2 separate regions of the Homo sapiens genome follow, and region 1 is linked to region 2. Evidence: promoter capture Hi-C in human tissues and cell types (Jung and others, 2019). All regions are on one chromosome and are shown on one strand. Each heading gives the region's core, a stretch centred on a gene start or on the middle of the fragment in contact. The rest is flanking DNA. Distances are from core to core; before and after follow the strand shown.

Region 1 (6,330 bases), core at 3,566-6,065, 860 kb before region 2:
CATGCCCGGCTAATTTTTTTTGTATTTTTTAGTAGAGACGGGGTTTCACCGTGTTAGCCAGCATGGTCTCGATCTCCTGACCTCGTGATCCGCCCGCCTCCGCCTCCCAAAGTGCTGGGATTACAGGTGCGAGCCACCGCGCCCGGACCAGATTGTTTTAATCACACTAGTACCTTCTTGCAGCCTCAGCACAGTGCTTTAATAGTAGGCCCTCTATCTCAGACATGAAAACATGAGCAAAAGCAAAAATACGAGGCCTGGCCGGGCGCGGTGGCTCACGCCTGTAATCCCAATGCTTTGGGAGGCCGAGGTAGGTGGATCACCTGACATCAGAAGTTTGAGACCAGCCTGACTAACATGGTGAAACCCCGTCTCTACTAAAAATACAAAAAATTAGCCAGGCGTGGTGGCAGACGCCTATAATCCCAGCTTCTCCAGAGGCTGAGGCAGGAGAATCGCTTAAACCTGGGAGGTGGAAGTTGCAGTGAACCAAGGTCACACCACTGCACTCCAGCCTGGGTGACAAGAGTGAAACTCTGTCTCAAAAAAAAAAAAAAAAAATAGTAGGCCCTTAGCCGGGCACGGTCGCTCCACCTCTAATTCTAATTGGGAGGCCAAAGTGGGTGGACCACTTGAGGTCAGGAGTTTGAGACCAGCCTGGCCAGCATGGTGAAACCCCGTCTCTACTAAAAATACAAAAATTAACTGGGTGTGGTGGCACACACCTGTAATCCCAGCTACTAGGGAGGCTGAGGAAGGAGAATCACTTGAACCCAGGAGGCAGAGGTTGCAGTGAGCCGAGACGGCGCCACTGCACTCCAGCCCTGGTGACAGAGCAAGACTCTAAGGAAAAAAAAAAAAAAAAGGCCGGGTGCTGTGGCTCACGCCTGTAATACTAGCACTTTGGGAGGCCAAGGAGGGTGGTTCGCTTGAGGTCAGGAGCTGGAGACCAGCGTGGCCAACATGGCGAAACCCCATCTCTACCAAAAGTACAAAAATTAGCCAGGCATGGTGGTGCATGCCTGTAGTCCCAGTTACTTGGAAGGCTGAGGCAGGAGAACTGCTTGAACCCCAGAGGCAGAGATTGCAGTGAGCTCAGATCAGATCACTGTACTCCAGCCTGGGTGAAAGAGCCAGACTCTGTTTCAAAAAAATAAAAAATAAAAAATAAAAAAGCCGGGCGCAGCGACTCATGCCTATAACCCCAGCACTTTGGGAGGCCAAGGTGGACGGATCACCTGAGGTCAGGAGTAGGAGACCAGCCCGGCCAACATAGTGAAACCTCATCTCTACTAAAAATACAAAAATTAGCCAGGCATGGTGGCATACGCCTGTAATCCCAGCTACTCAGGAGACTGAGGCTGGAGAATCGCTTGAACCCAGGAGGCGGAGGTTGCAGTGAGCTGAGATTGTGCCACCACACTCCAGCCTGGGTGACAGAGCAAGACTGTCTCAAAAAAAAAAAAAAAAAAAAAAAAAAAAAAAATAGAATAAGAAAAAGGCAGGCTGGGTACAAGATACTAGTCTGTTATGCCATTCTTCCCCACAGCCTTTTTAAAGTTACTGAGAACTATGACAGTAATTAGGCCTATAATACTCCTGGGAAGGAAACGAATCTATCTGTGAAACAAAAATTAATTTTTTCCCTAAGCTGAGTGAAGAGAATATCCACTTTGTTGGCTTCTGACATACACACTGACAGCACAGTTCACCAGACAACAATCACTCTTCTGGCGTCCCTTTCCCCAGGTATTCTATTCGCTTACTGCTCTATCTTCCCTGCCAGTCCACTCCCTCCTCTTTCCAGCCTGTGCCTTAGACAAGGACCCCAAACAAGGATCACCTGGGAAACTCCAAAAAACAGATTCCTAGTCATAATCCCAATTTTACCAAAAAAGAAGCGTTTGGAAACCCCTTAGATCGACAAGCAGCATCCAAAGACACCAAAAACTTAGGCTCATCAAGTATTAACTTCCTGCCTCAGCCTCCCAAGTAGCTGAGATTACAGGTATGTGCTAGCATCCTACTTATTGTTCACTCTGATAGAATTTTTTTTTCTTTGAGATGAAGTTTTGCTCTTGTCGCCCAGGCTGGAGTGCAATGGCATGATCTTGGCTCACTGAAACCTCTGCCTCCCAGGTTCAAGCAATTCTCCTTGCTCAGCCTCCCGAGTAGCTGGGATTACAGGCTACTTTTTGCAAGGCTAATTTTTGTATTTTTAGTAGAGACGGGGTTTCACAATGTTAGCCAGGCTGGTCTCGAACTCCTGACCTCAGGTGATCCACCCGCCTTGGTCTCCCAAAGTGCTGGGATTACAGGCGTGAGCCACCGCACCCAGTCTAGGTCAAGTTTTTCATCTCTTTCCTTTCCAAGGAGTTAAAGCTGAATTTCAAATTTTACAGTGAAATACACAATTCTAATTTTCTTTCTTTCTTTTTTTTTTTTTTGAGATGCAGTTTTGCTCCTGTTGCCCAGGCTGGAATGCAGTGGCACAATCTTGGCTCATCGCAACCTCTGCCTCCCAGGTTCAAGTGATTCTCCTGCCTCGGCCTCCCAAGTAGCTCGGATTACAGGCACACACCACCATGCCCAGCTAATTTTTGTATTATTATTATTTTTTTCTTAGTAGAGATGGGGTTTTTCCATGTTGGTCAGGCTGGTCTCTATCTCCCGACCTCAGGTGATCCGCCCATCTCGGCCTCCCAAAGTGCTGGGATCACAAGCATGAGCCACTGCACCGGGCCCACAATTCTAATTTTCAAATATATCTTCCTCCTGGAGGAGTGATATTCCAGTTTTGGGTGCAATCCTGATGTAGAGCCCAACTGTCCTGTGAAGAGAGTCAGCTGTTAAAAGGAAACCAAAAAATCAAGGTAGCTCTAGCTGTCCAATTTTACAAGTTTTCAACAGACTTGATGAGGGGTGAGCTAAAGGCGGTCAATGCTTTATTGTCTGTAACTCACTGGCACTGGCATTTCTAGAGTTGCTCACGTTCCCCCTTTTGGTGACTCACAGCACTTCAACATGTTGCCACAGCCAAGGAAAAAAGGAAATCAAGTCAGACAATGGAGGAATCACAGGATTTCCCTCTTCACATCCCCAGGTAGATGAGGTCATTCAATGAGTGTGTTTCCAAGGCTCCACAAATTCCCACACCCTCACCAGTGTTTAAACCTGAATGTTTTATCTGATAACTTTTTCTAATTTCACCAAGTAAGCTTATATATGTCTTAACTGTGAACTCCTGATAAGCACAAATTTTGTCTTGTGATAATTTATTTTTTTCTTTTTTGAGACAGGGTCTCACTCTGTCACCCAGGCTGGAGTGCAGTGATGCGATCTCAGCTCACTGCAATCTCCACTTCGTGGGCTCAAGTGATCCTCCAACCTCAAACTCCCCAGTAGCTGGGATTACAGACACGCGCCACCCCGCCCGTTTAACTTTTTTGTATTTTTAGTAGAGACGGGGTTTCACCATGTTGGCCAGGCTGATCTCGAACTCCTGACCTCAGGTGATCCGCCTGCCTCGGCCTCCCAAAGTGCTGGGATTACAGGAGTGAGCCACTGCACCGGCCAGCGTTTCTTTCTTCAATCACACTCCACCTTGTCTGGTTTGTAGCGCCATCAACAAAACACAGTACGTAAGGATGGACAGCCACAGGCCACGACAACCGGCTCATCAGAAGCGATTTTTTTTTTTTTTTTTTTTTTTTTTAGATGGAGTCTTGCTCTGTCGCCCAGGCTGGAGTGCAATGGCGTGATCTCGGCTCACTGCAACCTCTGCCTCCCGGGTTCAAGCGATTCTCCTGCCTCAGCCTCCTAAGTAGCTGGAGCTACAGGCTCACGTTACCATGCCCGGCTGATTTTTGTATTTTTAGTAGAGACGGGGTTTCACTATGTTGGCCAGGCTGGTCTCGGACTCCTGACCTCAAGCAATCCGCCCGCCCTGGCCTCCCAAAGTGCTGGAATTACAGGCGTGAGCCACCGACCCGGCCCAGACGCGATTTAAATGGCATGACACAGGCAGGCCTCGTGCAAAGACTGCAAGGAGGTCCCGGCAGCTTTTGCAGGGCAATTAATCCACCCAGAGCACTGCGCTCAGAAAGTAATAGGTAAACCCGCGTCCGGACTAACCGGCTGCCCCCACACTTGATCCCTCCCAGTCCGACTCTGCTCCAGGGCGTACCAGGGTTCACTCGTGAAGTCACGACACCCACTCAAGGGGCACTTCCTATAGAGATAAGGGCATTAGAGGAAGGGCAGAGCCCCGGTCAATGCCAACAGCCCGGGAAACAGCCAAGCCGGGCTCCAATCTCTGCCGGCATCCCCTGTCTGCACCGCCGACGCCCCCAGCTACGACCCCGGGGGTCACCTCGCCCAGCATAGCCGTGACGCTGGGAGAGGGTGGGCCCAACGGGGACGCCAAAGAGAGCCATTCAGGCCTCCCCGCGCCCCCGGGGAGACGACTTCTGGAGAGCGGCGTCCGCGGTTTCGCCCTCCCCTGACAGCCCCTCCACGCCCTTCTTCGTCCTTCTGCCCGGCCTCACCCAGCTTCCGGCCGCCCCCGGCCGGGTCTCCCCTCAGACCGGCGCAGGGGACCCAAAGGGCTGTGGCCCGGCCAAGCCCAGGTCCGAAGGCCTGGACCGAGGCAGGGCCCGCGAAGGACGCAGCGCGGTCCGAGAAGCCGGGCGGAAGGAAGGCCCCGGGAGGGCGCGGACAGCTCACCTGCCGCAGGTCGCTGTCGCCTGTCCGCCAGCCTCCAGTCAGCGTGCCCGTCAGCGACTCCCTCAGGCGCCGCAGTCCCTGCAGCCCAGCGGACTGGCGCGAGGCCGGCGCAACGTGGGCACGCAGCGCGGGGCGGGGCCTAGAGATGACACGCCCCTTGTAGCTGACACGCCCTTGCCGGGGGCGGGAAGCGGAGTATGTGGCTTTCCCCAGGTCTCTGGAGGTTGCAGGCTCAGGCTCTGCTCAGCGGGGTAAGTAGGCGTGCTTCGGCAGGAACACTAGTGTTCACAAGAGCCGAGGTGTGTGAGGGTGCCTCAGGGTTGAGCACTTTTCTTCCCCAGTGTGGTTTAATCCTTGTACATCCACTCAGTGATGTAAGAAATAGGGTTGTCAACCGTGGCACCACCCACTTGGTCACTTGCCAATGCAATCTGCGAAACTGAGTCTCAACTCTGACACCTCGGTTACCAGTCTTGTATCTGATCTCCCTGTTGCATTATTCGCATTCTTCAAACAGCGGCCAGAATGACAGAATGATTTTTCTTTTTTTGAGACCGAGTTTTGCTCGTCGCCCAGGCTGGAGTGCAATGACGTGATCTCGGCTCACTGCAACCCCCTTCTCCCGGGTTCAAGCGATTCTCCTGCCTTAACCTCCCGAATAGCTGGGATTACAAGCGCCTGCCACCACGCCCGGCTAATTTTTGTATTTTTAGTAGAGACGGGGGTTTCACCATGTTGGCCAGGCTGGTCTCGAACTCCTGAGCTCAGGTGATCCACCCGCCTCGGCCTCCCAAATCACTGCAATTACAGGCCACCGCACCCAGCCCAGAGTCATTTTTTAGTTTTACTGAACACAAAGAAATTACTGAAATCGTGGGCCGGGTGTGGTGGCTCATGTCTGTAATCCCAGCACTTTGGGAGCCTGAGGCGGGAAGATCACTTGAGGTCAGCAGTTCGAGACCAGCCTGGCCAGCATGTTGAAACCCCGTCTCTACCAAAAATACAAAAAAATTTTAGCCGGGCATGGTGGCTCCTGCCTGTAATCCCAGCTACTCAGGAAACTGAGGCAGGAGAATCACTTGAACCCAAGAGGCGGAAGTTGCAGTGAGCCAAGATCGCACCACCACTGCACTCCAGCCTGGGCCACAGAGCAAGACTCCACCTTGAAAACAAAAAACAAAAACAAAAAAAAACTGAAATCAGTGCAAGTAGCAGCAACTTCAGAAGTGAGTTAGGGCTGGGCACGGTGGCTCCCACCTGTACTCCCAGCACTTTGGGAGGCTGAGGTGGGTGGATCACTTTAAGTCAGGAGTTCGAGACCTGCCTGGTCAACCTGGTGAAACCCCGTCTCTACTAAAAAATACAAAAATTAGCCGGGCTTGGTGGCACATGCTTGTAATCCCAGCTACTCGGGAGGCTGAGGCAGGAGAATCTCTTGAACCCGGGGGGCGGAGGTTGCAGTAAGCCGAGATCGCGCCACTGCACACCAGCCTGGGCGACGGACCAAGACACTGTCTCAAAAAAATAAAAATAATAAAATTTTAAAAGTGAGTTAGGCAAAGAAAATATCAAGCGGACAAGGCCTCAAGGGATAAGACTCATGGA
Region 2 (5,851 bases), core at 2,282-4,781:
ACACAGGTTGAAAGATTTATTCAGTAGGCCTAAGAGTAGTGTCCCAGCCTTTCCAATTAAAAAAAAAAAATTCCACAGGTGATTCAGTTGAGAATCTCAGGTTTAAGAAAACTCTCTTTTCTAAACCACACTTCAACTAATTTATTTTATGTAAATAAATAATATAGCCAGATTTGGGGTTGGGGGAGAGAGGTAGCAAAGACTTTCTTCACCAGGACTCTAAGAGATTTAAATCCTAAATAGGAAACAGGCACTTCATTTTCAGTCTGACTGGAAAACAGTAATTTCTACCATTACAATTATCCTTCATAACCCAGCCATGTCCATGTTTATTAGATGTTTAAAAAAATTTTCTGTATCCTATGATATTTTGAAATCTTAATAAATCTTGCTGGCAGGGAGACTGCCTCTCCCAGGTCTAATTCCTCAAGACAGTAAACAACTTACTTGGGAGCATGCCTCTCACAGGCAAGTCAGCCTCCCCCCTTTATCTAACTCTCACACACCAAGCCAGTATTTCTCCTGCCCTAAATCATCCATGGCCAGGTACCAAGCAACTAGAGACCACCCAAAGGCAAAGCGTGATGGAATTATTTAAATTATCCAATCCTAAAATGTTTACTCCGCCCTGACTTGCTATTTCTGAGGAACCCCATAAAGGTTCTGGCCTAGACTTTCTCCTTGTTCCTATTTCTTCCTCCTAACCAAAAGCTGATGTCTCCCTTGTGGCTCTGAACGTGGTGGCACGCCTCCTTTTCTTGAGAAATGTAAGTAAATTATTTCAGGCCAGGCGCGGTGGCTCACACCAGTAATCCCAGCCCTTTGGGAGGTCCAGGCAGGAAGATCGCCCGCCTGATGTCAGGAGTTTGAGACCAGCCTGGCCAACATGGTGAAACCCCGTCTCTACTAGAAATACAAAAAATTACGCCGGGCGCGGTGGCTCACACCTGTAATCCCAGCACTCTGGGAGGCCAAGGCGGGCAGATCACGAGGTCAGGAAATCGAGACCATCCTGGCTAATATGGTGAAACCCCGTCTCTACTAAAAATACAAAAAATTAGCCAGGTGTGGTGGCGGGCGCCTGTAGTCCCAGGTATTCGGGAGACTGCGGCAGGAGAATGGCGTGAACCCGGGAAGCAGAGCTTGCAGTGAGCCGAGATCACACCACTGCATTCCAGCCTGGGCAACAGAGCGAGATTTTGTCCAAAAAAAAAAAAAAAAAAAAAAATTAGCCAGGCGCGGTTGCGGGCGCCTGTAATCCCAGCTACTCCGGAGGCTGAGGCAGGAGAATCGCTTGAACCAGGGAAGTGGAGGTTGCACACACCACTGCGCTCCAGCCTGGGCAACAAGAGCCAAACTCCGTCGAAAACGAAGCAAGGAAGGGAAGGAAGGAAAGAGAAATTATTTCAACAGCACTGGCCTCTCCATGTCGTCACTCAGTCTCCTCTATAAATTCAAGTCCCAAGACACCCTGCCCTACCCTTGCCTCTGGGCTGCTTATCATTCTTGTTCTGTCTTCTTTATCCAGTTGGAAACCATATTACAAACTAACTTAGATTTCCAAGCCAGAGAGCAAGTAAACACCTCCTAAATCCTTCATCAAGGAAAACCTCTTGGAAGGTTTTGAAGCTCAACATTCAGAATCAAATGTAGTCTTACCCAGTAATTCCACTCCTAGAACACAAAAACTTGTGTTATGAACACGAATGTTCATAGCAGCATTATTTCTAACAGCCAAAAAGTAAAAACATCCATATGCCCATCACCTGATACATGGATAAACAAAACATGGTCCATCCAAACACGTGATTATGCAGCCATGAAAAGGCATGCAGTACTGATTCATCTACATGGATGAAATCTTGAAAACATGCTTAATAAAAGCCCAGCAGAAAAAGCCAAGTATCACATGATCCCATTTACATAAAATGTACTGAATACGCAAAACCACAGAGACAGAAAGCCGATAAGTGATTGCCAGGGGATGGGGTCGGGGGAATTGCGGAGTGACTACGAATGGGTACGGCAGGTTCGATTTGGGGTTTTAAAACGTTCTGGAATTAGCGACGATGGCTGCAAATCCTGTGAACGTACTGGAAACCACTGAATGTACACTTCTAGTGTGCATTTTATGATACTGTATCTTTTAAAAAACATATTGTCTGCCCTGCAAACTGATTCCTTTACACCTCTCCTGTGTTCATTATTTCAGTGACTGGAGGCACACTACTCTCAGATGTTAAGGCCAGAAACCGGCAAATCGTTAACAACTGCGTCTTGACTATGCTCCATATTTCTCCATTCTTTTCGCTCCACCTCCTAATTCGGGCCGCTCTCACTTTTCATCTAGATTATGTAATAGCCTCCTAATGGGTGTCCTTGCCTCATCTGTTCTCACTGTAATTAGGCCTTTAAAAACAAAATCTTACGCCGGGCGTGGTGGCTCACGCCTGTAATCTCAGCGCTTTGGGAGGCCGAGGCGGGAGGATCTCTTGCGGCCAGGGCTCGAGACCAGCCTGGGCAACATAGTGAGACTCCCCCCCCCGCCCCCACCGCCCGTCTCTACTTAAAAAAAAAAAAAAAAAAAGCCGTGAGCGGTGGCTCACGCCTGTAATCCCACCACTTTGGGAGGCCGAGGCGGGCGGATCACCTGAGGTCAGGAGTTGGAGACCAGCCTGGGCAACAGAGTGAAACCTAGTCTCTACTAAAAACACAAAAATTAGCTGGGCGTGGTGACTGGCGCCTGTAATCCCAGCTACTTGGGAAGGTGAGGCACAAGAACCGCTCGAACCCGGGAGACAGAGGTTGCAGTGAGCCGAGATCGCGCCACTGCACCCCAGCCTGGGCAACAAGAGCAAAACCCCGTCTCAAAAAACAAACAACAAAAAACCTTCAATGGCTCCCGACGACCCCAAGTTGAAGCTCAAACCCTTAATACGATGTGTAAAGTCCCTCAAATACCAAGCCATGGCAAACCTCTGCTACCTTTCCCCCAGGCCCTGGCTGGCTTCACCCTAGCCCTGCGGAAGAGCTCGGGCATCCCCTCCAGGCACCTGAAGCGCGGCAGAATCCCCTCTTCACGTAGCTAACCCTCCCCGACCTCCAGGCCTCGACTCTCACGCCACCCCACCTGAGAGGAAGCTTCTCGGGCCCCCAGGCCAGATTTGGTGCCTCTCCCGGTCCCCCTCACACCGTCCACTCTCCGCTCCACAGGCAGGTATGCCCAGAGGGGGCCGCCGTTGTATCCGCGAACATTTCCTGAGCCAGCTGGGGAGGAACCAGACTTTATCTCACAGCTGCCACAGTGCCTTAAACTCGCCCTAACTCTTTCTCAAAAACTAACAGACTCCACCTGAAGCAAGCGCCGCTTCCGCCTCGCCCCGCCTCCTGCCGACCGGAAGCGCTGGCCGCCGCGGGCCCGCGCCCGGCGCCGCAGAGGAAGACCGGAAGCGAGGCTGCCGCACCACCGCGCGCGCCCGCTCTGCGCCTGCGCGCAGGCAATGCTCCGCGGGGGCGCGGGCGGCGCATGCGCAGGCGCGCGAGTCTCCGTTAAGAAGGTGCCGCGGCGGCGCCGGAGGTAGGAGGAGCCGGGCTGTGGGGCTGGGAGTCGGCACCCGGGAGGCGGAGGTCCTGTCATTTCGGGCCGTTCTCTCTTTCCTAAGGGAGAAGAGCCTTTCTCGCCCGTCTCCCTCGCTGGCTCCGTGGCCTCGGCAGGCCCGCAGCCCCGACGGAGAGGCAGGAGCCGCACTCGGGTGGAGAGGGGCCGGGGCCCGCCTGGAGGGAGGAGGGTGGCGGATCCGGATCCCCACGGTGGTCTCCGTCCGGGCCAGTCCGGGGATCGGGGTTCTCCGTCTGACTTTAGAGCCGTTAGAGTCTTTGGCAGCCCTTTTCCCAGACGGGGAACCCCTCAGCCCCTTTCCGTAGGTCGCCGGGTTGGGGGAAGCGGGAGGGTCCGCCCCTTACCGATCCATTCATTCATCCCTCGCCTGCTGTGAGCCGTGGGCTGCGGTAGGTACGAAGCAAGGAGGCACAAGTCCCCTTCCCTCTGGAAACCTGCAGGCTTGCAGGATCCGTTATGTCATTCAGTAAATCTTGACTGGGCACCTATAGGAGGAGATAGACTGTTGTGAGGTTCATATCAACAGAGATGCGGAGATCAACACAGTTGTGGAGGTGGAATTTGTTCCAGCCGCTCCCCGCATCCAACAGGATAAAATTCACTTTGCCTAGCCTGACCTTCCAGGCCCTTGTGAGCCAATCCTTTCCTCTCCCCGCAGCGTTTTCTCCTACACCTTTCTCTCTACTCCCATTATACCGAACTCTTTGCAATTCATGAATTCAACAAGTAGTTGTGGAGCACTTATTTCAAGTCAGGCACCAGATCAGCCAAAGAGGTTGCAAAGTAATAGATGGATCTCTACCCTCCTGAAGTGTTGAGCTTAATGGGGGACAGATAATAAGCCGATGAATAAAAACACAAGAGCGGATAGTTTCGAACCACACTTCCTGGGTTTGATCCCAGCCCTGCCACTGTGAAAGCTGTTCCTGAACTGGCTTTAGGCCAGTTCCTCATTCTGCTTGCGCGTGTTTCCTTGCCGTAAAGACAGGATGACAAGAGATTCCACCATATAGGCTTCTTGTAAGGATTAAACGAGTTTGACTTGGAAAGCAATTGGAACAGTGCTTGGCACACAGTAAGCATTCGATAGATATTACCTGTTTCATATGATGATAACCTATGACAGATGCCATTGTGAAAACAGTGGGCGATGATAGGGATTAACGGGGATGGAGACGGTCCATAAAGGATTAGAGGACACTTCTCTAAGGGGAAGACACAGAAGAGAATGCGCCAGCCATACAAAGTAGATTCTAGGTAGGAGTATTTTCAGCTCTGGAAAACAAAATGATTAATTAGATTCCTTGGACAGTGGAGATTGCATTATTGTATTTGAAAGGAATAACTTTCTGCCATTGGGTCATTCAGTTTTGATTTTTGAACCCCACTTAGCTGTGTGCCAAAGTAAACAACCATGCTCACGAGGCCCAGCCTTTGCACACAGGCGACATTCCAGTCATCCAGGTTTGGAGAGCCTTGCTGGGTTGAGAAGATAAGTAAAAGTGACCTTTTCTCTCCTGAGTGTTCATGAGAATATAATGTCTCTTTCTGTCTCTTATGTTGCAGTATTTACAGAAAGAGCCTCTTTAACAGCCAGGGGTCTTAGATCAGTGTAGGAGATAGTTTTCCTAGATTTGGGGATCATCCTGTTTCTGTGGTGACTGCCTTTTATGGGGTTTGCTCCCTAAATTTCAGTTAAGAAAACACTCTCCCAAGATGCACATATTTTAATACCTGTGGAAGAACAACATGCTTTGACAGGTTTCTAGGTCCTTTTGTTGTGATGTCTGATAGGACGGTTAGACCATGTTAACCAGGCTGGACTGAGTATTTGACAGTATTGTTACTCCGAAGACTTTTCCCTCACCCCACATGCCCTTGTCCCTCCCTGGAAGAACTGGCATAAAATGACAATGTCTGATTACACTTACATGCTTTTGGTTTTCCACAGATGTGTAATTAAGTGAACCATATATGTTTCATCATCATGGAGATCTTGGAGAATTATCTGAGCACCAGGTTCATATGTATTCGATCTCAGAGGCATCTATTGGACAACAAAACACTCTTTCAGTTGTGAACTTTATTTATTTATTATTATTATTTTTTGAGACAGAGTTTTGCTCTTGTTGCCCAGGTTAGAGTGCAGTGGCACGATCTCGGCTCACTGCAATCTCCGCCTCCCAGGTTCAAGCGATTCTCTTGCCTCTGCCTCCCGAGTAGCTGGGATTA

Evidence for each region. The method cuts DNA at HindIII sites, captures the fragments that hold promoters and counts their contacts. A contact is called where the count stands out against the background at its distance.
Region 1: the fragment with the promoter of HMOX2 here is called in contact with the fragment with the promoter of SLX4 in region 2 in 2 of the 25 tissues and cell types used here (dorsolateral prefrontal cortex and lymphoblastoid cells).

What each region holds. Positions count from the first base shown.
Region 1 is chr16:4,474,883-4,481,212 of GRCh38, reverse strand. It overlaps HMOX2 (heme oxygenase 2), which reads right to left and starts at 4,815. Exons shown (of 6, transcript NM_002134.4): 1 at 4,726-4,815. LOC124903636 (a long non-coding RNA gene) reads left to right here. Exons shown (of 3, transcript XR_007064964.1): 3 at 1,652-1,949. It also overlaps a transcript of NMRAL1 not described here. RefSeq lists an enhancer at 4,518-5,019. The HindIII fragment of the contact is 17,527 bases long and covers 667-6,330 here.
Region 2 is chr16:3,609,286-3,615,136 of GRCh38, reverse strand. SLX4 (SLX4 structure-specific endonuclease subunit) reads left to right here and starts at 3,531. Exons shown (of 15, transcript NM_032444.4): 1 at 3,531-3,577; 2 at 5,571-5,851. It also overlaps a transcript of DNASE1 not described here. RefSeq lists an enhancer at 3,214-3,283 and a silencer at 3,324-3,673. The HindIII fragment of the contact is 5,274 bases long and covers 1,231-5,851 here.